Regions from separate parts of the Homo sapiens genome. Here all the other regions are linked to region 5. The links are contacts of gene promoters, found by promoter capture Hi-C in human tissues and cell types (Jung and others, 2019). All regions are on one chromosome and are shown on one strand. The core of a region is centred on a gene start or on the middle of the fragment in contact, and the rest is flanking DNA. Distances in the headings are between cores, read along the strand shown.

Region 1 (3,562 bases), core at 776-3,275, 910 kb before region 5:
CTCTAGAGCGACTCAGTAGGGCTTGAGAAGAGCCCTGCTCTGCAGTAGCCTTTTGGAGAGACCTTAAAGTGATTTTCTGCAGGGTAGGATTTGGAGATTGTAGCCATGACAATGTCTGCTTGTTGTTTTGGATGAATCTGAACAGCGTTAATCAGCCTAAGGAATCTGAACCTCTGGGTTGTTGGCAGGTCTATGTGAGGTGTACAGAGGCCTTCCCAAGGCAGGGACCACCATCTCTGTGATCTGGATCGCTCCTCAGGACAGAGTCCCTCCTGGAGCCTTGATCTCCTCCAGCAGGTCCCATGGCCATCATGCGAATATAGCCCACTGCCACTTTTCAGGATTTCTTTCAGCTTCTCGTGACCCTCTCCCAGGACACGCACGCACTATGTGACTGACCATCTGGTACAGATCTATAGACCTTCCTCTGTGGTTTTTCTCCAGCTCTTCCCCATCCAGACCATTCTGCGAAGCTTGCTTTGGAAATGGAAGACATACAGCATCTTTTTCCAATAGAATAAGGCTGTCTATACATGAGCCAAAAAATATACATCTTGGGGCTTTGTAGGATTAAATATGTTTTGGCAAATACTGTAAATACAAAGGGAGATTGGAAGAAAGGCAGCCGAACAGGCTTTTAGGTTTCACTTATGTTCCCTTCCTGCAGAATGAATGATCATTTCAAGATGCATCATTTTGTTCAGCTCATCTTTAAGGAAACAAAGGTCACTATTATTCATAAACAACCGGAATGGGAAACAACCATTACAATCAAACCACACAAACGCATATTGGGAAGAGCCTTTTCTTTCTTCCTTCCTTTTCTTTGCTTTCTGTGTTCAGAGGCCATAATGACGACTGTTCCTGGTCTTCATTCATTATATACAAATGGGTTTAGCACATTTTGGCATCTGTACCCTGTTTACAACAAAATGTTCCTGTCCTGTCCTTTAATGCTGCTGTGTGGTTTCTGTAGGGCTGCCTTCCAGTGATAAAAACAGGAGGGATAATGGGGGGGTGAGATGTGTTGGGAGTGGAGGGAGGGGGTTGTTTTCTTTTCTGGGATGGTGGGTCTCCTTGGGCAATTCATCATTCTCTCCAAGTTCACACTGCAAGGTTAAAGAAGCTGGGGCCAGGTGCGGTGGCTCACACCTGTAATCCCAGCACTTTGGGAGGCCAAGGCGGGTGGCTCACGAGGTCAGGAGATCAAGACCATCCTGCCTAACATGGTGAAACCCCATCTGTACTAAAAATACAAAAAATTAGCCGGGCATGGTGGCGGGCACCTGTAGTCCCAGCTACTTGGGAGGCTGAGGCAGGAGAATTGCTTGAACCTGGGAGGTGGAGGTTGCAGTGAGCTAAGATCGCCCCACTGCACTCCAGCCTGGCAATAGAGCGAGACTCCATCTCAAAAACAAACAAACAAAAAACAATTTTTTAATACTCCTTTTTCTACTTGTTCTGCATCTCTCTTTTCCCCTTCATCATCAAAGTTGTTAAAATAGTTCTCTAACTTGCTTTCTGTATTTTCCCAGTTCTCGGTCCTTCTGTAGCCACTCCAATCTGCCGGTACCCCTAAATGTCAACCCTCGCTGGTCTTCCCAAGGTCTGTAGCCCAGGGGTTTTCCTTTGAGTCTTAACCTTATGGGACTAATTAGCCCTATCAGATGCTGCTGCCCACACCTTCCTTTGGAAATGTTCTTTTCCTCTGCCACCTGTGTTATATGCCACCTCTGGATTCTTACCACCTTTTTGGTAAAGGCACGGTATCATTGGCGGGCCCATTTTACTCAACTTATACCTCAAAGACTGCTATGTTTTCAGGCTCTGTATTTGGCCCTCTTCTGTGTGTAGACACTCACCTTGGTTGAACTAATCTTCTCTCATGGCTGTAGTTGCCAGCTGTATGTTGACAATTCACATAACCCTGCTTTTGTTTCTCTGCTAAGATTCAAACTTATATGCCTAAGTTTTTTCCAAAATAATTGGTTGTCTCATGAGAAATTCCAATTCAAAATATCCAAAATGATACTCATCTCCCACCCATATATTCTACTATATATGCTAAAGGTTTCCCATGCTACCTTTAGCAATAAATGCCACTGCCATTTTTCAGTTTTCCCAAGCAGAAATCTGAATCAATCTTTTGCTTCCACTTTTCCACATATGTGATTCCATCAGGTCCTATTGATTTTACTTCTGATTATATCTAAAACAGGGACACTTCTCCCCATCTTTACAGCTACTATTCCGGGTGAGGCCATTATTATCTTTCTACTGCATTGGGACACTTCCTAATAGGTGTCCCCACCTCTTACATTGAAACAGTGGAGATCCTTCTAGAACAGGGGTCCCTAACCCCTGGTACCAGTCCGTGGCCTGTTAGGGACTGGGCTGCACAGCAGGAGGTGAGTGGTGTAAAAGTAAGCATTACCGTCTGAGCTCTGCCTCCTGTCAGATCAGCAGTGGCATTAGATTCTCATAAGAGCACGGGCCCTATTGTGAACTGTGCATGCCAGAGATCTAGGTTGTGCACTCCTTATGAAAATCTAATGACTGATGATCTGAGGTGGAACAGTTTCATCCCCAAACCATTCCCCCTCAACCCCTCCTTCCCCCACCCTGGTCCATAGGAAAAAATGTCTTCCACAAAACTGGTCCCTGGTGTCAAAAAGGTTGGGGACTACTGTTCTAGAATATAAATTTGATAATGTTACGTACGGTATACAGCTCAAACTTCTTTACATGACTTACAAGGCTCTTTATAACCTGGTTCCTTTTTATTTTTCCAGTTTTATTCCCAATCACTTCTGACTTTAACTCTACTACCAAATAATACCAAACATCTTTAATTCCCTTACATGGGTTTCTGACTTCACTTCCAACATTCTGAGCATGCTCATCCTGGGAATATTTTCCTTCCTCTCCTATCCACAGGAGATAGGAACAACCCCTATCCATTAGGCCTCCTATCCTATGGGACTAATTCCTAACCATTCTTCAGTGTTACACTTGGATGACTCTGCTTAACTCTGGGAAGACCAACCCGTCCTCTCCAGGGTGGGCTAAGCACCTCCCTTCTTGTCTTGTATGGTATTTTCCTGCAGCGATTGGCGCCCAATTTGTCCTCACTTGCCAGCATCCATGCCCTTAGGTAGCATTCTCTCACATTGACTCTGGACTTGGCTATTTGACTTGCTAGGGCCAATGAGAAATAGATAATGTCATGCAAGTAGAGACTTGAAAAGTGCTTGCACATTGGAGTTTGTCCTCTCTTGCTGACGGCCACACCCACTATGTGAGTAAGCCCAGACCAGATTATTGCACAATGTGAGAAATACGGCTCAGTGGCCCTTGCAATCCTAGTGGACAACTGGTAAGCCAGACATGTGAGAGCCATCTGGGACCATGTTTTTTCTGTCTGGGACATTCTTTCTCCCATATTTCTTGTAAAATGATACTCATCCCTCAGGAGTCAGCCTAAATGTCACTTTTTTGAAGAGACTTTGCCTGATGCACCATCTAAATCAGGCCCACTAGCCTAAGCTCTCATCAAACCCTT
Region 2 (3,630 bases), core at 132-2,631, 840 kb before region 5:
CTAGTGTGACTATGAAATGACTTGATGGAGATTTCTATCCTTTCCAACTTTTGCTATCATAAGCAATACTGCAATGAACATCTTTGTGCCCAAGTGCAATTATTTTGGTAGGAGAGATTTCACAGATGAATTGAAGTTGAATTACTCATCTAAGTGGATGCACCTTGTAAATTCTAATGGATGTCAAATCACCTTCCAGAATATTGAATTAGTTTATACTTTTACTAACAATGAAAGTAAGTGACCCTTTCTTCACAACATTTACTAACATATTAACAATCCTTAAATTTCTTGTCAATCTACTAGGTAAAATTGATTTCTAATTATTTTATTTTAAATTTCTATGATTACCAATAAAGCAGATCATATTTTAATATATTAGCCGGCTTTTGGTATGTCTGTGAATTACCTCAATATAACTTTTGCCCATATTTGCATGGGAAACACTTTACTATGGAAATTAACCTTTTTTATTTATGCATATGTCCTGGGCACTCAATACATGCTCAAAGCTTTTCTGCTGAGCTTAGTATGAACTGGTCACGTTGGCATGTGGTCTTTCATCAGAAAATAAATATAATGTATTTGTTTATTTTTCTCCTTCTTCCCACATATCAGTTGTTATCAAATTTAAAGAAAAAAAATTATGGTCGATTATAGTAATCAGCTAACTTCAAGCACTTGGAATAATTTGCTGTTGCTTCTTAACTTAATTTCTAGTCTATGCTTTTGCCTAATTGTCAGACTTTGTGGTGTATTCACTTTTACAAGTTGTTGCAAAAATTTTATAAGTTAGTATAAGTATATATAAATTTATAATGGGTATTCCTTAACAGTTTTAGTTTATTATTATAATATTATTATTAGCTTTTATCTCAGATATTTTCATTATGATGTCAGTAGAAAAAATAACAGCAAAGATATAAAATAGAAATAACAAATTACCCTGCCCCGCCACACCCTAGTGCCGTGAGAGCATGAAAATATCACAGCTATGTATACTTCAAGGGAAATTATAAATTGAGATAATTAAACTTCAGATCTGGTTTTGAGCTTTCTGGAAACTAAGGTAAAAAGAGAAACACAAGAGATTTATTTTCTTAAAGTGTCTCCTTCTGGCAGTGACCTCTCCTTTTTAAAATGCCTATTTCTGCTGGCCCACACTGATGTCAATAAACGTTACTCTCAGTTTGTTTCTTGGACATTGGTCACAGCCTCAACTAGACTGAAAGATTTTCTTTTTTTTTTTTTATTATACTTTAAGTTCTAGGGTACATGTACACAATGTGCAGGTTTGTTACATATGTATACATGTGCCATGTTGGTGTGCTGCACCCATTAACTCATCATTTACATTAGGTATATATCCTAATGCTATCCCTCCCCCCTCCCCCCACCCCACGACAGGCCCTGGTGTGTGATGTTCCCCTTCCTGTGTCCAAGTGTTCACATTGTTCAATTCCCACCTATGAGTGAGAACATGCGGTGTTTGGTTTTTTGTCCTTGCGATAGTTTGCTGAGAATGATGGTTTCCAGCTTCATCCATGTCCCTACAAAGGACATGAACTCATCCTTTTTTATGGCTGCGTGGTATTCCACGATGTATATGTGCCACATTTTCTTAATCCAGTCTATCATTAATGGACATTTGGGAAAGCTTTTCAAAGGTAAGAATCTACCTTATGTTTCTTTTGAATCACTCAGGGTAAATGATTAGGAAACCTACATTGAAAAATTAGTGCTAAAAGTACAAAACCATGGGATCCTCCCAAAGTAGAAATCAGGGCCAGGCCTGAAATTGTAATTTCAATAGAAGATAGAAGGAGGTGGGAGGGGAATGGGGAGAACAGTGAATAAATGGCAAGCACCCAGACTTTGCTTTGCATCCCAGCTTGCCTTGGACAAATAACCTAACCCATGTCTCAGCATTCTCGTATTTTGTCTCAGCATATCTCTCATTTATTTTGAAAACTATGTTGTATTATACAGAGCTGTTACAATTATCACTATTATGGAGGTGTTTGGGGGCTACATTGATCCACCACAAGCTTAGATTGTGCATCGTGAAGGTTGATGATGCTTGCATAGTCAACCACTACTCCCACTTCACGCAACAAAAACCTGCCTGTTGAGCAGGTCTTTGAAAGGGTGTGGGAGGTTGTTACTATTTGCTGGGCTTCAAGAAAAATTAGTTTGCCCAGAGGTGTTTTCTATGATGACAGAACTGTATGACTCTGGGTACAGGAATTAAACAGTGAGTGGGGTATACATGTTAAAGTGCGTTGGTGTTGAAAGACATCTCTGTGCTGGGTTGGTTGAGGGTGAATTGTACTCTCTCTCATGCAAATCAGAATTCCTTGTATGTGTTTGGTCCTAGAAATGAATTTTAGATTTTTTTTAGCAGTTTTTAAGAGGCAAGCTTTGGCTTGAGCCTGGGGAAAATTTACCTGGGCTTGTTTGAATAACTGAGATGTGAGTCTCCCTGAACCCCTGATACTTCAGGATCTGATGAGACACATAAGGAAGAATTGGGGAAATTATTCTAGGGGACCAGTTTACCTTCCTCCTCAGGATGGATGCAAAATTCATGGGCTGTTGTAATATTTTTCACTGACATTAGTTTTTCAAACTAGGTTCCCATAAATACAGATGGTTCCTGACTTACCATGGTTTGACTTAGGATTTTTGGATTTCAGGATGGTGCAAAAGTGATATGCATTCAGCAGAAGCTGTATTTGAATATTTGGTGAATTACATGAAGTATTCTATACTTTATTATAAAATAGGCTCATGTTAGATGATTTTGCCCAACTGTAGGCTACTGTAAGTGTTCTGAGCATGTTTAAGATAGGTTAGGCTAAGCTACTCTGTTCAGTAGGTTAGATGTATTAAATGCGTTTTTGACTTAGGACATTTTCATCTAATGATGGGTTTGTTAGAACATAATCCCATTGTAAGTTGGGGAGCATCTGTGTATGATTGAGTCCTACTGAGATGGAGAGGGAGATGCAGTTAGCAGTGTAAGTCAGAGCAAAAGAGACATTCTCTCATTTTAAAATGCTGCAAGTCACCCAGTGGCTCTGCTTTGCCCTCTCAGAAAAAAATGAGCCACATGTTCCCACAGCACTGCCAGGCTTGCCCTCCCGAGGGTTCCCGTGCATCTATGGCAGGGTCTGGTCATGCCTGACGCATCCAGATGTTCTTATTATAGGTTGACACAGCCCAAAGGACAGGGATGGCAGGCTGACATGGTGACACCCACTGTGATGGGACAAAGAGGGAAATAAGACTCCACAGGGAAGCTTTATCTCCATATCTATCTATCTATCTATCTATCTATCTATCTATCTATCTATCTATCTATCTACCTATCTATCATCTATCTGTATATCATCTATTTGTCTATCATCTATTATATTCCTGAGTACATGAGAGATACCTGCTAGGAAGATCCAGAAATATTTGTTGAGACTTTTAAGGGAGCTGTTACCGCATGAACTGTTGGAGTCAAGTTAGAGAAAGAGAGGCCTTAGTTTTTTAGTCCCATATTTAGAGTCAGTGGCTGATACTAAAATTAAGATGGGCTGGGCATGGTGACTTATGCCTATAATCCCAATACTTTGGAAGGCC
Region 3 (3,481 bases), core at 48-2,547, 700 kb before region 5:
GATCACCATTTCAGTGGACATTTTCCCATCTTCATCTCTCTCTATTTTATGTAACTTTTGAAATACTCGCAAGTCTTCTCCCATAGTTTCTATGATAACACTAGGTTTCTACTTTTCAAATACTCTTCACTGTTCTCTCTCTACCCTTGAGGTAATCAAACTTTTTCTTAGTGTTTTTCTAGTCCTACATCCCAAGCTTTTCTTCTTGATCTTGTCCATTTCTATGTTTTACAATACATTAGAATACTAACATAAACCCATTCACAGTCTAGAAATGGAGAGGGCCGTGGCATTCAGAAAATCAAAAGTAATCTGAAAAATTCCAATGATCTGTCATCTGTGATTTACTTGCTGATGGCAAACATTGGTAGTGAATTTTCACAGCATAATTGGGAGAACTGCTGCTGTTTGGAAATAGTTACACATTAAAGGCTTAGTAGAAGATGAAATAAGTATGACCTGTGAACAAAAACAGATAACTAAGAAGTAGACACAAGTTGTTTTACTCATCTTGAATCAGAAATAGTAATATTTGTAAAATTTGATGGTAATAGATACAAATTCGCTTTGAGTTAGGATAATGGGTCATAAAATACCTAATCTGAGGAAAACAAAGCTAGCACTTAAAATACACATTGCTTCCATCTCCATTACTTGCTTCACTCTTAAGAGAGCTACCTAATAGTTAAGATCCTGTTATTAGCCTTTTTTGATTGCAAATGAAAGAAAAATCAACATGGACTAGCTCTCCAAATTAAGAAAATAAATTCACTCATGTAATGTAACAAAATCTGCGATAGTTCTGGGCATGGGCGGATCCAGATGCTTAAGCAATACAGTCAGCAAGGTTTCCCTCTTTTTTCCTTGTTTCTGTGTTTATTTCTGTTGGCATCATTCTCAGGTAGGTTCTTATTCACACAGTGGTAAATATGCCTGCAAATAGCTTCAGATCATCTACATTTTATTGATTCAGCAACCCCGGAAAAGCAGCACTTTGCTGACAGCTCCTAGATATGATTTTTCTAGCTTCAGCCTGTGTCTTGTGTCACTTTTGGAATCAGGGGATGGAATCAACCTTATCTGAACCTATTATGTTGGTGATGGAGAAGGAATGGACCCAAGATGCACACAGAAACACACACATATGTCTCTTTTCTTCTGTATATTACAGTCACGTTTATTATCCTATTGTATGAAAAAAGCACTCAGAGACATTAAGTTACCTGCCAAGGTCATATGGCTAGTAAGAGGACTTTATGAGAAACAGGAGTTACCCTAGTGTCAATGAATTATAGATATTTAGAATTGAAAGTAACTTACAACTATAATGTACAATCTTTTTCCATGGTTTTCAAAATCTTACTTGGGTTGGGCATGGTGGCTCATGCCTGTAATCCTAGCACTTTGGGAGGAGGGAGGATCACTTGAGGCCAGGAGTTCAAGACCAGTTTGAACAACATAGTGAGACCCAGTCTCTACAAAAAATTAGAACAAAACAAAAAAAAAATAGGTGGGCATGGTGGTGTGTGCCTGTAGTCCCAGCTCCTTGGGAGACTGAGGCGGGAGGATCACTTGGGCCCAGGAGGTTTGAGGCTGCAGTTAACTATGATTTTTCCACTGCACTCTAGCCTGGGAGACAGACTGAGACTCAGTCTCTTAAACAAACAAACACAAAAAATTACTTCTTGTGTCCTAAGTGCTGTGCACTTGTTCCAAAAGAATGTGAAATCCCTCCTCACTGCAGCAGCATTGAGTTTATCTGCTTTACATTTTAGATTATGTAAGATTCTGTAGGAGAAAAGATTTCATCTATGTTAGAAAAGTTTTCAAACAACCACCCAAAGTCACCCTCTTATTGTATGGAAGTTATTTGCTCTGTTATAATTAGGTCAAAAGGTGCTTCATAATCAGTTTAACTAACTTTGATCAGTGTAAACCAATAGTGCCAACTGAACTCTGTTCAATAATCCCTGAGGCGAATATCAAATATGTAATAGAACAGGCATTCACATTTTCCCATTTCTCAGTTGCTTTGAGTATCTAAAGATGTTCTCAGCTTCTTCACATAAACCCACAGGGTATGACCTACTTGCTTTAAGAGCAGTTGTTCTTTTTTTTTTTTTTTTTTTTTTTTTTTGAGACAGGATCTCGTTCTGTCTGTCACCCAGGCTGGAGGCACAATCATGGCTCACTGAAGCCTCGACCTCCTGGGCTCAGTTGATCCTCCCACCTCAGCCTCTGGAGTAGCTGGGACTACAGGTGCATGGCACCATGCCTGGCTCATTTTTATATTTTTTTGTAGAGACAGAGTTTTCGCTATGTTGTGCAGGTTGGTCTTGAACTCCCGGGTTCAAGTGATCGATCCTCCCTGCTTATCCTCCCAGAATGTTGGGATTACAGGGGTGAGCCACTGTGCCCAGCCTATGAAGCAGTTGTTCTTTATGGAAGTATTCTAACATAGAAGGGAGTTAATATGACAAGGGTAAAGATGGGAAGAAACTATTTTATGGTGTAAAATCTCAACTTAAAGTTTTAAGGATTTATCTTTTCTCCTCAAACAGAGTATAATTTAATGAAAAGTTGTCAACTTTTTGGCATCAGTGGGTTGAGATTTCAAGTTCTTTAGGGCCTGGCAGATAATGTACATTATTTTACTGGAGTATGCACAATCTGTCTACTGGGACCAGCCTCTATTCAGCGGCAGCTGACTGTCACTATACATAAATTATCATTGAGAAGTTGTTTTAAAAACTCCAAATTGCATTTTTACATGAATGTTTAAACATTAGAAAATCAGATATTTGAAAATAATATTGTTCCTGCTAAAATGTGTCTGTAGATTAAACAAGCCTGTAAGTTGAACATTTGTGGTCTCTGTTTTACATAATTAATGCATGGTGAATTGTTATACTATTATTGACTTTGTTGGGGAAGGTTTTTTTTCTTTTTCCTTTAATACTTGATCCATACTCAGAATATACAGGCACAATCAGATTCTATACAACAGATATTTCAAAGAAAAGATATTCAGAGTTTATACAAATTGAAGTAGGGAACCATATTTTTAAATTTATTTTTCACTGAAGCTCTATTGATTTCTTATTTGGCTGAACCTATATGATCTTTTGTGACTAGCTTACCTGTATTTGAGTATGTTCACCCTACACCATTAATCAAACCATCCTCTGTGGAAAAGTGAGCTTATTTCCTGAAAAATATTTAAGAAAAGAGGAGACATTTACTGTCTTTTACATACTCCACCCCCAACATAAAAAATTGTTCTTACATTCAAAATGTATTGTGTATTTGGCTAATTCACAGTTTGCATCTTCGATCCTAGGCTTGGCAGGTTCTTGTCTAAGTGCATAATAAATCACTGCTCATCCTCCTTATTCTCTGCCACCCAAAAGAAAGACTTAAAATCTAAAAACTCAGTGAAAGGCATTCTGTAAGGACAAGACAGGATTGAAAATTGGCAAAT
Region 4 (3,572 bases), core at 574-3,073, 650 kb after region 5:
CACCTAGTGATTTTAAAACAGGATACATAGCTTCCAAATCATGGATAATAGAAACTGGGGGAGAAACAAATAAAAACTCATCAATTCATTAGAGTCCAGTAAAAAAAAAATAAGTTTCCGTGTTAAAATTAGAGGTATAAATGAACAAAATATTTGAACAGATAAATTACAAAAGAAGATGTACAAATGGCCAATAAGCACATGAGAAACTATTCAACATTATTCGTCATCAGAGAAATAAAATTTAACAAATAATTAAAAACTGCTATACACCATCCAGAATGGCCCCAAGTGAAAAGACTAACACTAATGCTGGCAAGGAAGTAGACAATCTGAACTCTCAAACATTGTTGGTGGGAGTGTCAAATTATACAGCCAATTTGGAAAAAATATCTGGCAGTTTTTCTGAAAACTTAACATGTACTTCCTCTATGACTTTAGGTATTAACTCCTAAATTTTTACCCAAGAGAAATGAAAGCATATGTCTACCAAAATTGTAACATATTTATCGATAACTTCCAAGAAATGGAAATAGCCTGTGTCCATTAATAAGAAAATAGGTAAATAAATTGTAGTACATTCAAACAATGAAGTGCTACTCTGCAACAATAAGAAATGAAGTATCAGCTAAATGTAATAAATTGGCTAAATCTTAGAAATGTTATGCATTTATGCAGCCAAAAGACACATGAAAAAATGCTCATCATCACTGGCCATCAGAGAAATGCAAATCAAAACCACAATGAGATACCATCTCACACCAGTTAGAATGGAGATCATTAAAAAGTCAGGAAACAACAGGTGCTGGAGAAGATGTGGAGAAATAGGAACACTTTTACACTGTTGGTGGGACTGTAAACTAGTTCAACCATTGTGGAAGTCAGTGTGGCAATTCCTCAGGGATCTAGAACTAGAAATACCATTTGACCCAGCCATCTCATTACTGGGTATATACCCAAAGGATTATAAATCATGCTGCTATAAACACACATGCACACGTGTGTTTATTGTGGCATTACTCACAATAGCAAATACTTGGAACCAAGCCAAATGTCCAATAATGATAGACTGGATTAAGAAAATGTGGCACATATACACCATGGAATACTATGCAGCCATAAAAAATGATGAGTTCATGTACTTTGTAGGGACATGGATGAAGCTGGAAACCATCATTCTCAGCAAACTGTCACAAGGACAAAAAACCAAACACCGCATGTTCTCACTCATAGGTGGGAATTGAACAATGAGAACACATGGACACAGGAAGGGGAACATCACATACTGGAGATATACCTAATGTTATCTCCTAACATTAGGAGATATACCTAATGTTAAATAACGAGTTAATGGGTGCAGCACACCAACATGGCACATGTATACGTACGTAACTAACCTGCACGTTGTGCACATGAACCCTAAAACTTAAAGTATTAAAAAAAAAAAAAAGAAATGTTATGCTGAGTGAAAGGAGCCTTAGGCAGGATTAAATACTAAATTATTCCATTCATATGAAGTTCTAAAACAGCAAAATAAAAACCTGTAATGAAAAAATTCAGAAATGATTGCCTCTTGAGTGACTGAAGGTTGGGCTTGGCTGTGAAAGGGCACAAAGGAGCTTTCTGGAATGATGGTCATGACTTGGTAGGCTTTGGGGGACAGTTACATGTTATATGTTGATCTTAATTCACCAAATAGCATCCTTAAGATTTGTGCACTTCACTGTATTTAAATCTTATGTCAAAAGAATAAAGAATGAAAACCAAAATTGAATTTATTTCAGGATTTGTATGCCGAAGTGCTTAGTGCTAATGTGTTGATGTCTCAAACTTACACTGGGGTGTGTTTTTAAAAATGGTAAATTGATATATGGAAAGAGGCATGGAGAGGTGAATAGATACATGATAAATCAAATACAGAAATAGGTTAAGATACAGGAGCTCAGGAGATATCTAGATTAAATACGGCAAAGTGTTAATCTGGTAGTAAGCACCGGAGGACGTCTCATGTTATTTTTTGTGTACTTGTATTTTCCTATATTCTTGAGTTATTTTATTATTACAAATATATGTGCTAAACCATGTATTACTTAAGTGCTGTACAAAAAAACCTGTATAAATATGGAGTCAGAGACCCTCTACAACCACTCTGCAGTCCCCATCCCTGGACATCCCAAGGTGAATATAGAAACTACAAAAATTCTATGGTGTTTTGGCTGTTAACTTTGTAGGTGTGTTGATAGGTTTGTATGCTTAATTAAATTGCATAAGATGGAGTAGCAAAAGTATAAACAAATCTATTCTTGAGTAGAAGCCACTATTATTCCTCAAGTGAATTTCCTCCCTCCCCTCTCAGAGGATTATACAGCCCCATTCATTATCATGTGACTTGCTCTGACCAAAGCATTTGAGCAGGCATGACATCTGCCACCTCCAAGGGAGAGTGTTGTGGGCTGAATGTGTTTCCCAAAATTTATATGATAAAGCCTTAACCTCCAGTACATCAGAATGTGACTGTATTTTGAGATAGGGCAATTAAAGAAGTGACAAAATTAAATGGAGACCATTAGAGGGTACCCCCACCTAATCTGGTTAGTGTCCTTAGGAGAGGAGGAAATCTGGACACACAAAGAGACATCAGGGATGAGCCTGGATAGAGGAAAGACTATGTGAGGATAGGGAGAAGGTGGCCATCAGCAAGCCAAGGGGAAAGTCCTCAGGAGGGACAACCCTGCTGACAACTTGATTTTGAACTGCTAGCCTCCAGAACTGTGAAGACAAGAACAAGAACTTGCATGTTCCATAACTCCTGGAAGGAGTTAAGTAACTCCAGTTGTTCTTTCAACCCGGAAGTGAAAGCTAGGTCACATCAGTTGCAAACAAGTAACATGAGAATAAATGCTTGTTGTCAGAAACCACACACACACACACACAGCAGGATGTATGTGACTATTCTTTTTGGCAGAATTTAAGTGGGGCCAAATTTTACAGATTTGACATTATGGCGCAGGAACAGTGATTTTGCAGCCCTGTCAGCTGCCTTGGTCATTGGTGAATTGCACTTTGCAATACAAAATAAAGCTTATTTTTTGGTGCCTTCCATAGGAGAGCAATTTGACTGGCTCTGTGATACAAAATGCTGCAAATGATATGTTGCCAAAAAGTTAAAGTTATTAAGCTTTTCTTTCGTCTCATCACAACCAAAATAAAGGCATCCTAGACTCAAAACAATAAGGAATTTTCTTCTTCTGCTCAGGCTGGAGTACAATGGCACAATCATGGTTCACTGTAATCTTGAACTCCTGGGCTCAAGTTATAATCCCATCTCAGCCTCTCCAGTAGCTAGGACTATATCATGCCCCGCTATTGTGGTTTTTTTTTTTTTTTTTTTTTTTGGTAGAGACAAGGTCTACTATGTTGCTCAAGCTGGTCTTGAACTCCTGGCATCAAGGGATCCTCCTGCCTCGGCCTCACAAAATGCTGGCATTACAGGCATGAGCCACTGTGCCCAGCTACGAATTTTCTTTTAAAAGTATTCATGAAAAGCTTGTTCTTTTAAAGTTTGATTTGAA
Region 5 (3,482 bases), core at 48-2,547:
TACACCTTGTGCGACGTGATGAAAGCATCATTTCCAGTTTATTCGACTTTTCTGTTTAGACTTATTCATTATAGCCCATATATGTGATAAGGACTAAGAACCCAGTCTTCAAGGTCCTGTCGAGTTCCAAAGAAGTCCACCCCTCAGAAGATCCTTGGAAGGGGAAGAAGGAAAAAAGAAAGAAAGAAAAATCTGTTTTACCCTATAACAATTTCAGCGCAATCTCCCAAGACCAAGTTGGTTAATTTGTAAAGTCACTCTCATTTTTTCCTCAACAGTGCCACCTACTGTCCATTTTCAGTCATCAGCAGGCTTGTTGGCAAGGTCCAAGAGAAAGAAAGGAGGCGGAGTGGTGGGGGGAGGAGTAACCAAAAAACGAACTCTACCCAGCCTTGGGGCATTGTGAAAACGACGAGGAAAGGCCATCTCCAAGCAAGACATATTTGTCCTCGTCAACTTTGCAGAAGGCTTGCAAAAAGCAAAAGCCAGTTAAGCCATTTCCTTCAAGATGGCTAAATATAAGTCCTCCAGAAAACAATTTTTATTATTTTATTTTTAATGCGCGCTGTTTGAGTATGTTTACGTTAGGGGACCAGATTGAGCAAAAATATACATATAATTACTTTTCTATGTTTTCCGCCCACCCACGGCAGAAACCTCTTTATGAGAAAGGCTTTGACACTTGACGTCAGCTCAGAAACTTTTGAGTTGGCGGGAAGAAAGGGTTAACAAGTGGTGGACCAGCGCGATCTTTTTAGAGTCCCAGCCGGCTGTCGAAGGCTCCAGGTACACACACACACGCACACACTTACACACACACACACACACGTGCACACACCCCTCCCAACTGTTCCTCCTTGGGTCGGTTACTTAGCTGAAGGGCACCATTTGGCTTTAAAACAAATTACTTCAGCGCCACAGGGAGTTTATCGCTTGGAGGGAACTTGTAACGCGGGAGTTCAGGGAAATCCAAGAGGCGAGGGCTCCCACCTCCGCCGCCAGAGGAAAGTAAGGAATCAGGTGGTGGCCCCCTATGTGTCTTGCATTTCTCTGCACACGTTAGCAATCAAGTTAATTGAATTCATTGGAGTTTAGAACCGGCCTGTAGCTCAGAGAAGGCTTTGAATGGCCAATTTCTCTCTCTCCCTCTCCCCCTCCCCGCCTCCCGCTCGCCCGCCCGCCCGCGCTCCCAGTTCCCTCCCCTCAGGGTTCCCCAGTCCACACCTCCCTCTCCACTTCCCTCACCCCCCCACTCCCTCCGCCGCCCTATTAAAACACCCACCAGCTCACTTGTTAAGACCCCCTTAAGTTGGAGGAGGCAGAAGGGCAACAACGGCGGGGAAGGAGAAGTCAAGACGTCTGGAAAGAATTACCCAGTCCTGGCTTCGAGCAGCCCATTGAACCAGAGACTTGAAACAGCCCCAGCCAAAGACTTTTCTCCCAATTCTGCGCTTCCTGGGTTCTGCTGAGTCTTCCACAGGCTTTTTTTTTTTTTTTTTTTTTTTTTAAGACGAAAAAGAGATTTTCTGTTATCGGGGGCAGAAAGACTGAAGCCCAAAAAAAAAAAAAAAAAAAAAAGAAAAGAAAAGAAAAAAGAAAAGTTAATTTATTTTTAAAGCATAATTTTTTTAAGAATTAGACTGAAGTGCAACGGAAACATAAAGAGAATATTAGTGAAATTATTTTTTAAAGTGGGGAAGAATCAAACATTTAAGACTCCCCTATCCTTTTTAAATGTTGTTTTTAAATTTCTTATTTTTTTTGGCCGGTCGTCTCAAATTCATCTGATCTCTTATTACCTCAATTTTGGAAACTGCCCGCCACCGACCCTCCGGGACCACACAGACAGGCTGAGGACGACTTTATGACCAAGAGCTGAACAAGGTACGTTACACTGGCGCGTTTTGGTGAAGGATGAAGGTCCTCCAACAGGCCAGGGAGAAGGAAGACATCCTTATAATTGTTTTAAAATTTTTAAGCCAGTTTCGATAGAAAAGTTGGAAGTTTAAAAATTTCCAACAGACTGAAGATCAGGGAATATTTCAGGTCACTGTCAGGCTTAGCAACATAGCCCTCTTTTCCCATTTCTGCGGCTCTCGCCAGAAATCCGCTGCCTTTCTGGGGACACAGGTAGCCTCTCTGCCTGGGAAAGGCTGCACGTCCTCAGATGTACTTTTCCATTTTGCATCTTCCGGAGCAGCAGAGGGGCTCCAGAGTTAGGAAACAAGAATTCCCAATGTAAGGAAAATGCATTCTGCACAGCCGCCCCACCCCTTCCCTTCTTTTTTTCCCACACACACACACACACACACACACTGTGGGGAGAAAAACTGGAATAGCCCAGCGCGTTTTACTTCTAAGTGAAAAAGTCGCTTCTTGCTGGGAATGCAAAGGGTTAAGCAATCTGGGCTTCCAGCTCCGACAAGCTGGGACCCTGGAGAAGGAGGGTCCTTCTCTACCTCCTCGCAGCTACCATCCCCTCTCGGCCACTCCCCCCTTTCCCGGGCCTCCCCTCCTTTGCACTTCCCGCACCCCATTAAAGTGTCAGGCTCGTCAGTCTGGGCTTACTCGGGCCAGGGGTCCCTGACGCAGGCGGTGGCACCCGCAGATAGGAGCGGGAGGAGGGCGCGCATCCCTCCTCTCCTCGCCGGGCCAGCCCGCCGGCCGCCCGGAGGCAGGGCGTGCGTGGGGACCGCGCGCTGCGCTTCGGCAGCTGCGGCGTCCCCAGAGCCAATTCCGACGTGGCACCGCGCACGCCGGCGCTTCTCTCCTCAGCTGCAGCTGGGGACACTGCCCGGTGGGAGATCTGGGGGCGCCGTCTCGAGCGCCCAGCCGATGAACGGGGCGAGGGGCCTGTGGGAGCTGGGGTGGAGGTGGGAGGGAAGCCAGAGGCTGGGTTGGGATGGATAATCAACACCTTGGGGGGAATTCGTCACGGCAGTTCCCGCCCAGCGTGAGCCAGGGCTCCGAAATGGGTCCCTGTGAACAGGAGGGCGGGTCTGAAAGGAGGGTCTGTATGAGGGTGAGAACCGGGAGGCGAAAGAGCCTTTTTCCTCTGACCACGGAAACGCAGCCGCGGGGGAACGGCGCTGAAAGGATAATTAAAGCTGCAAAGAGGCGCTGGGAGCACAGGGGCGGTGCCTGGGGAGGAGGACTTGCAAGACCTGTGTCCTATTACACAGTCTTAGGTGCCAGTTCCCCTAGCGCCTCTCCCTCCGTCCCCCAAACGTCCGCGCTGAATACTTGGACTCAAGGACACCGCGCGCCTCTGGGGCGAACGAGCTGCAGCAGCCCAGCTACGGGAGGGAACGTGTAGAAGCCCCATCAGCCTCTCCCTGCCCACTCCCTCACCCTTGGGACCGTTGCTGCCTGTTGGGTCTCAGGAGCAATTGCCCAGAAACGCGACGCTGCTCCAACCCACGTGTCTGGGCTGGGATTGCCTTTGACGTCACACACGGGGGAGGTGTGACGCAATAGATAGG
Region 6 (3,444 bases), core at 27-2,526, 800 kb before region 5:
GAGTAAAGGTGTATAGTTATCCTGACAAGGCAAAGCTGTACATTATAGAGTACACTGTACATGTTTTCATGTTACCCTAGTGATAATGAAGAAATTGTGCAGAGGTACCTGAGAGTTTGTTTTTAGCAATTGTCTATTAATTTCATTATCCATCCATCCAAATGAATTGACCTCCTGGACTCTTTGAGGTAAACAAAAAGATGAAGAAAGAATTCAAAATGGAAAGATTAAAAAGGCTTCAAAATACAAGGGTCTTTTAAACTGAACATTGGAAAGTTTTAAAATAATCTACTTATTGAGACAGGTTGGCTCTGTTAGGCTGCAAATCAATTTTAATATTTGTTCATATTTCTGCTTTCACGTGAAGTTAGACAAGTGCACATGTTTCAACTCTTGAGTAAAATTTAAACAAACTCTACCAATATTGCAATTAAACCATCTGAATGTGTGGGCTAGAAGCCAGGAGAAAGTGGAAGAGGATACAAATGCAAATACAGAATTCCTACCACAGAAGTAAGGGCAAATGGATTGGTAAAGATATGTTTTCCTGACTCTAGACTAGTGGTTAGGTATGAACTATATGATACCAAGCAGCTTTATCGGAAACTGAAAAGTTCAGTCCATTGCAAAGAGTATTTCTTATAGCCGTAAGATTCAACATTTGTACCCAATCTCTTTCCTTTGTTGGACAGTGCCTTGGTGAGGAAAAGCCTGCTTGATAGTAGTGCACAGGGCAGGACTGGCATGGGGATAGACTGCCTCTCATCCTGTAAAGGCGCAGATTGGAAGTTGTCTACTGAAAAGGTGCCAGGGTCCAAGTCAGTATAATACGTTCAAAATCAGGCTGCCTGTCCAGCAGTTAAGAAAGAGGGTTGACAAAGTAGGGCCAAAGCAGGGAAGGCCAATGCATCGGGTAAGTAGGCACAAAGCAGTCAAACAGACACAACCTGCAGGAATGCCACAGATGAGTGTGTTGACACCATTAGTAGTGGCGAGGTACTGCAGTCTAGGGCCATATTGCTTGGGAAGGCCTGGTTTATCACAGGAACTGTACAGGATGGGCAGAATAAGTCATAGCTGAAGCTAAATATATACTTATTTGGCAACAAAGAAATTGGTTACATTTTCAGTTTATTTACATATGTGGTGTTAGGACTGGGATGATGCTGAGATGAGCAGCAAAGGGTAAGGGCATGAAGGTGGTAGGTGGCCTAATGTGTTGGAATGAATGAAAGAATGGGGAAAGATCTGCATATAAAATGTTCATAAGCAGGTCAGATGTAGTGGCTCATGCCTGTATTCCCAGCACTTTGGGAAGCTGAAGCAGTCGGATCTCCTGAGATCAGGAGTTTGAGACCAGTCTGGCCATTATGGTGAAACCCTGTCTCTACTAAAAACATAAAAGTTAGCCACGTGTGGTGGTGTGCACCTGTAATCTCAGCTACTAGGGAGGCTGAGGCAGGAGAATCACTTGAACCCAGAAGGTGGAGGTTGCAGTGAGCCGGGATTGCGCCATTGCACTCCAGCCTGGGCGACAGAGCAAGACTTTGTCTCAAAAAAAAAAAAAAAAATAAGATGTTGATGAGCGAAAGTCACCCATACTTATTTACTGGTCTAAAGGTTGCTGCTGTTCTGCCATCATTCCTTCCTGCTCTCAACTCCTCATCCTCAGGCTTTCCATGGCTATTTGATTATGGAGGTGGGGGAGGGGAGAGAGTTATGATTACAAGGATAGGATTTAATTTTGCAGTAGAAACTATTCTGTATTGTTTACCTATTTCCCAGGCATGTTCTGAGGATTTTTACTGATGAGATAGTTGAGAGTGTTATACAAAAAATCCAAATGTGCATTGTTTAAAATATTGCCTTCTTAGCCTTTCATTGCCTTTGGTAAAGCACAGATGTTTTACCATGCTTGTTTTTGTATTAAAATATAGATAAGATTCTACTTTCAATGACAATAAGTGACTCTCATTACAATTATTTCTTTTATTCTGTACACATGTGCATTTTATACCTATTAAGGTGAATATCATGGAGCCTCTTAAACATTCCTAACTTATGTGCTGTGCATTAATTATTTTTTAGAGTACATATTTGTTGAAAGTGCTGGTGAATTCACTTGCTCTGAATTTCTTCCAAACATATTAAATCACCTTGTAGTATGATTAATCAGAGTTGATTTTTTTAAGAACTCATATCATATTTTGATTTAACTTAGCATTTTTTTCTTCTTGGTTCCCTCCGCCCAATTCTTTTAATGAGAAACCAGATTCCTAGAAAAAACATTCCTTGGCACAGATGCCAATTCTCTGAAACTGGTGGATTGCAATGCCGCTGTGTTGAATCTCCCAGTGGGATGGGGTATCTGCAGTCAGGTTGTTTTCAAAAGGTTGACATTGGGGTTCTGGCTATGACACTACGGTTCCATTCAGTCTTTTATTATTCCTGCTCTGTAACCTGACTTTGGTCCAGGAAGAGGAAATCCTTAGGCTTAATCGAAGACAATCAGCGTAAGGTCAGGAGGGTAATGCTAAACAGACTGGAGGTAAAGGTAGCATGGAAATAAGGAAGAAGGTAAGACCAGAGTGGATTCGAAGATTAGACTCAAAGATGTTAGCCAAATGCACCTGGAAGGCAAAATATGAACCCTAAAATATACAGAGCCCTGGGGAGATATAAAAATAAATCAAGCTTATTTGGTTTATTGCCTTTCCATTTCCCTGGTGGCTTGTCCAGCTGTTACCCCAGTTTGAGCAGGCAGCTCATATGCCTGATTTTTAGGTGTTTATCATGGGGTGCCTTGCTAGAACAGCTGCTGGTAAAAGGACCCTCAATTCCTTCATTATGCATCAGCTCCCAAACTTCACAATTCCTAATATTAAACTACTTTGATTGGAGATTATAGTGTTTCATTTAAATTTTAAATGGCATGTTGCAATGTGCTTTTAGGTAATTTGTAATGTGCCTTTGGGCGTAACACTATTTTAATGTTGGTGTCTAAATTACACAGGAGAGTGGGAATGCTTTAGATGAAAAGGAGTAACCAGCTTCACGTAGGATCTTCTTTCAGACAGCTGTGTCACCCCTTGCACTCCTGTACATAACTGATAAAATACTATAGCAAAGTTACCGAATGTTCAAAGTGGATTCTCCTTTGCAAAGGCCATTGAGAGTTGGCTGTAAGTTTTCCCTGAAAGGTGGTTGTTAATACCATATTACACATGAGGAAACCAAAGGCATTTACATAAGACTCATAAATTCGGAAGTACCAACACAGTGGTCAAAAGCCAGGCTGTAGGACAGACTGCCTGTATTAGAAAACTGCCTCCATCACTATCTGTGTTACGCTAAGCAACTTACTTATCTGTTTTGTGTCTCAGTGTTCATATACGGAAATAGGAATAATAGTTTCTACTTCATATAGTAATGGAGAATGATGAG
Region 7 (3,332 bases), core at 408-2,907, 820 kb before region 5:
TTCTATAGCTTTTAAAAGTACCCTGCTATTTAAAAAGTTATGCATATTTAAAAAAGCATTTTTATGACCCCATTTTCAGGTCTTTAAGCCAAGTCCATCCTTACAAGCAACACATCTCAACTAGTCCTTAAAACAAGCTGCAAAATCCAGATGGTGTCTGAGATCATCTCTCAAGTCAGGCTCCCACCACTGTCTCTTCCCACCATTTATATTCTAAACTACGACATTTCTTCCTTTGTTTCAGATTTTGACTCAATACCCAACTTCAATGTCCATTTCTAGTCTTCTATAGATTTTTCATTCCTCTTGATTGTATTTAATAATTAGACATTGGAGTCCAGGTTTGGTTTCTGGCTTTATTCGTTTCTGACCTTGCAATGACCATGTCACAAATGAGTTGTTCCTGCTTTAAGATCCTTCTTCTGTGTACAGCACCCCGACCTTGGGGATCTCCTCTATTTCTCTTTCTACAAAAGGCCCCTGCGTGCTTCAAGCCTTTATTTAAAGAGAACCATTGCAGACTTTTGGGTGCTTTTGTGTGTAGCCTGATGAATTGCCTATGTTAAAGAAGAGAGAGCCTGGAGGCTCATATCAGCATCCTGCCAGGAATTTTTTTAGACAAACATTTTGACCAGAGTTTTATAAATTGTAGATAAAAGGATATTATAATGATATGTTTGCACATTATTTTCCTGAAAATAGAATGTTTTGAATTTTGTCATCCTTCTAGAAAATGTGCATTTATATTGACATTTATGGTTCAAGTCTTGAGATGCAGCCAAACCACAAGTCTAGATTTGGAGCAGTGACCATGAGGCTATGAAGATGGGTGATCATAGTGGGAGAGTAAATCAAACATTGATACTGTGGTTGGTTGACTTGTGCTAAATGAATAAAGAAAGTAATGAGTTGTACATTGTTTTTCCTAAGGCTGATGTAAACCCCCTTTTCTCTCTTGTTATATTGAATTCTTTTGGCTACCAGCCCAACATAAACTGTTGTCAAGGACTCTCTGAGCCAGTGATTCTTAGCTTTGCACTCCACTCCTCATCTTCAGGGCATACTTATGCTTAAACTCCAGGGGTTGGAGTATCATAGAAGTGACCTGCAGAATAACTGGGGAATTTTCCTAAGAGGGCAAGCAGGGATTCTTACATACATTTTATAAATTCTTTTAGGGAACACCATGGATTGTCTTTGGAGAGTCTACAAAACTCCTAAGATTCTCTGTAAAACTCATATGTATGTGTACTTTTGTCCTGTAGAGAAAGCCCACAACTTTCATGACATTCTCAAAGCGGTCTGTGATACCCCCAGTTTTTGGAACAATTGGGACAGCATATGGAAGTATGTAGTGGTAGCTCAGAATTTTGAAGCTGAAGGCTGAAGTCATGTGGCTTCTCTGCCGGGTATCACGGTCTGTAAAAAGGGCAGGGGCTTTCTTACTTATTTTTGTCACCCTCCACTTTCTAGCATGGTGGCTAGACCTAGGACATTGTCACTTTATGATACATTAGCAAATTAATAGACATCTTTGCAGAAGAAAAAAGCCATTATGTATATTAAATGCGCTTTGATTGCTGAAATGTGAAAAAAGATTGGTCTCAGAATTGAGAAAATACATTAGTATAAGCTTAATTATTCTTTGTTGAATGGATGAATAAATACTTGGTAACCGCCATGAATAATCATAACCGTTATCTACCATTTCCAACATAGTTATTACATGCCAGGAATCTCACTAAGTCTGTTACATGTATTATCTCAATTTTGGGGGTTTTGGCATTGCGTGGCAAGTACTATTATCTCAGCTTGACAAGTGAGAAAAATTGAAGCTTAAGAGAATAAAATTTTTTTTAAAGATTGTAGTACTCATAAGGACAGAATTTGAACTGAGGCTTGTTTGAATACAAATCTCAGTCTCTGAAGTTTGGAAGGTAAAGCCACATGAAACAGATTTATCAACCTATCTCCAGTTTTCCCCCATCCTCAATAAAAATAAAAATAAAATTCTTGATGTTGGTCTCGGTGATGCCTTGATTTCTTTTATATCACTCCCCTCCACCCACTGTTTCCACTGTGTCCTCCCTGGGGTTGATGTAAACTTTAAGCCCTAAAAATGGCTACAGGTCTGATTAGTATTAATCTCGTAGAAGTGTGGCTAATGGTGTTTTTCAAGAAGGGCAGAGGGGTGGTGGTTGCCTTATAAAAAGGTCAGAGAAAACCTCTATGAGGAATACAAGTTAGCATTTGTCACATATTACTGTATATGTGTGAGAGTGTATTTGTGTAAATGCATGTTTTCTTTACAATATACCAATAAACACTGGCAGCAGAAATAGGTTGTCTTTTGAAATATATTGAATCTAGCAAAAAAAGAAAAAAGAGAAAAGTCTGGCATAGAGTGAGTGCCCAATACATCAATACTTTTTTCTGGATGACTAAAGCAGAATGAGGAGGTTTGTAATTTGAAGAAGAAACTGAAATAGGAACTTTTAGTATCACAAGCAAAAAAATATTGTAGAAGTAGCAGAAGTATTTTAGGATATAATTTGAAAGAAGGAAGAAATAAAAGGTTAATCACCATCCAAATATGTAGCCATCCACTATTTTCTTTAAGAGAGTAGGAGGGTTTAGTTGGGTAGATTCAGAAGTTCATAACCATTTGATATTATTTCAATTTTAGTAATCTTCAATCCCATTCTTGATCAATAGAAGCACTTTTCAGTGTCATGATTCTGAAATCTTGTCTTGTTTTGCCCTTAATAGGAATCTCTAAATCTCAATTATGATGACAATGTGGAGTAGAATTCCTTAGTGAATCTACAGATTCTCTTAGGCAATTCAGGTTCAATTTTGCTGGTTTATTATATTCACTCCATTCAGATTGACATGTAACTTGAATCTAATGTTAAGAATATTTTTGGACTTTAAGTTACTCCTTCCTGTGGAGTTGGCAAGAAGTCTGGTGAACATTAATTTTTAAATCCTGCAAAGAGAGATTAACTTTAACTGAAGCCCCTTTGGAGCTCGATCAAGTTAGAGCCATAATTTCTTTGTAGGGACATGGATGAAGTTGGAAATCATCATTCTCAGTAAACTATCGCAAGGACAAAAAACCAAACACCGCATGTTCTCACTCATAGATGGGAATTGAACAGTGAGAACACATGGACACAGGAAGGGGAACATCACACTCTGGGGACTGTTGTGGGGTGGGGGGAGGGGGGAGGGATAGCATTAGGAGATATACCTAATGCTAAATGACGAGTTAATGGGTGCAGCACACCAGCATGGCACATGTATACATATGTAACTAACCGGCACATTGT

The links. The method cuts DNA at HindIII sites, captures the fragments that hold promoters and counts their contacts. A contact is called where the count stands out against the background at its distance.
Region 1: a fragment that was not itself captured here is called in contact with the fragment with the promoter of HAS2 in region 5 in 1 of the 25 tissues and cell types used here (dorsolateral prefrontal cortex).
Region 2: a contact is called between a fragment that was not itself captured here and the fragment with the promoter of HAS2 in region 5, in 3 of the 25 tissues and cell types used here (aorta, dorsolateral prefrontal cortex and spleen).
Region 3: a fragment that was not itself captured here is called in contact with the fragment with the promoter of HAS2 in region 5 in 1 of the 25 tissues and cell types used here (lymphoblastoid cells).
Region 4: a contact is called between a fragment that was not itself captured here and the fragment with the promoter of HAS2 in region 5, in 2 of the 25 tissues and cell types used here (mesenchymal stem cells and spleen).
Region 6: a contact is called between a fragment that was not itself captured here and the fragment with the promoter of HAS2 in region 5, in 2 of the 25 tissues and cell types used here (IMR-90 fibroblasts and stomach).
Region 7: a fragment that was not itself captured here is called in contact with the fragment with the promoter of HAS2 in region 5 in 3 of the 25 tissues and cell types used here (dorsolateral prefrontal cortex, mesenchymal stem cells and mesendoderm cells).

The regions. Positions count from the first base shown.
Region 1 is chr8:122,552,517-122,556,078 of GRCh38, reverse strand. All of the region lies in intron 2 of SMILR (smooth muscle induced lncRNA, enhancer of proliferation), which reads left to right. Among named protein-coding and RNA genes, the nearest start is that of SMILR, 14 kb to the left of the region's middle. The HindIII fragment of the contact is 4,063 bases long and covers 1-3,562 here.
Region 2 is chr8:122,474,854-122,478,483 of GRCh38, reverse strand. All of the region lies in intron 2 of SMILR (smooth muscle induced lncRNA, enhancer of proliferation), which reads left to right. Among named protein-coding and RNA genes, the nearest start is that of SMILR, 92 kb to the left of the region's middle. The HindIII fragment of the contact is 4,576 bases long and covers 1-3,630 here.
Region 3 is chr8:122,340,501-122,343,981 of GRCh38, reverse strand. All of the region lies in intron 1 of LOC105375733 (a long non-coding RNA gene), which reads left to right. Among named protein-coding and RNA genes, the nearest start is that of SMILR, 230 kb to the left of the region's middle. The HindIII fragment of the contact is 6,009 bases long and covers 1-3,481 here.
Region 4 is chr8:120,994,670-120,998,241 of GRCh38, reverse strand. No RefSeq gene overlaps it. Among named protein-coding and RNA genes, the nearest start is that of SNTB1, 180 kb to the right of the region's middle. The HindIII fragment of the contact is 4,581 bases long and covers 1-3,572 here.
Region 5 is chr8:121,639,255-121,642,736 of GRCh38, reverse strand. HAS2 (hyaluronan synthase 2) reads left to right here and starts at 1,297. Exons shown (of 4, transcript NM_005328.3): 1 at 1,297-1,884. It also overlaps HAS2-AS1. RefSeq lists enhancers at 15-638, 2,840-3,340, 3,341-3,482. The HindIII fragment of the contact is 13,134 bases long and covers 1-3,482 here.
Region 6 is chr8:122,435,553-122,438,996 of GRCh38, reverse strand. All of the region lies in intron 2 of SMILR (smooth muscle induced lncRNA, enhancer of proliferation), which reads left to right. Among named protein-coding and RNA genes, the nearest start is that of SMILR, 130 kb to the left of the region's middle. The HindIII fragment of the contact is 9,762 bases long and covers 1-3,444 here.
Region 7 is chr8:122,457,168-122,460,499 of GRCh38, reverse strand. The region is part of intron 2 of SMILR (smooth muscle induced lncRNA, enhancer of proliferation); the gene reads left to right. Among named protein-coding and RNA genes, the nearest start is that of SMILR, 110 kb to the left of the region's middle. The HindIII fragment of the contact is 5,362 bases long and covers 1-3,332 here.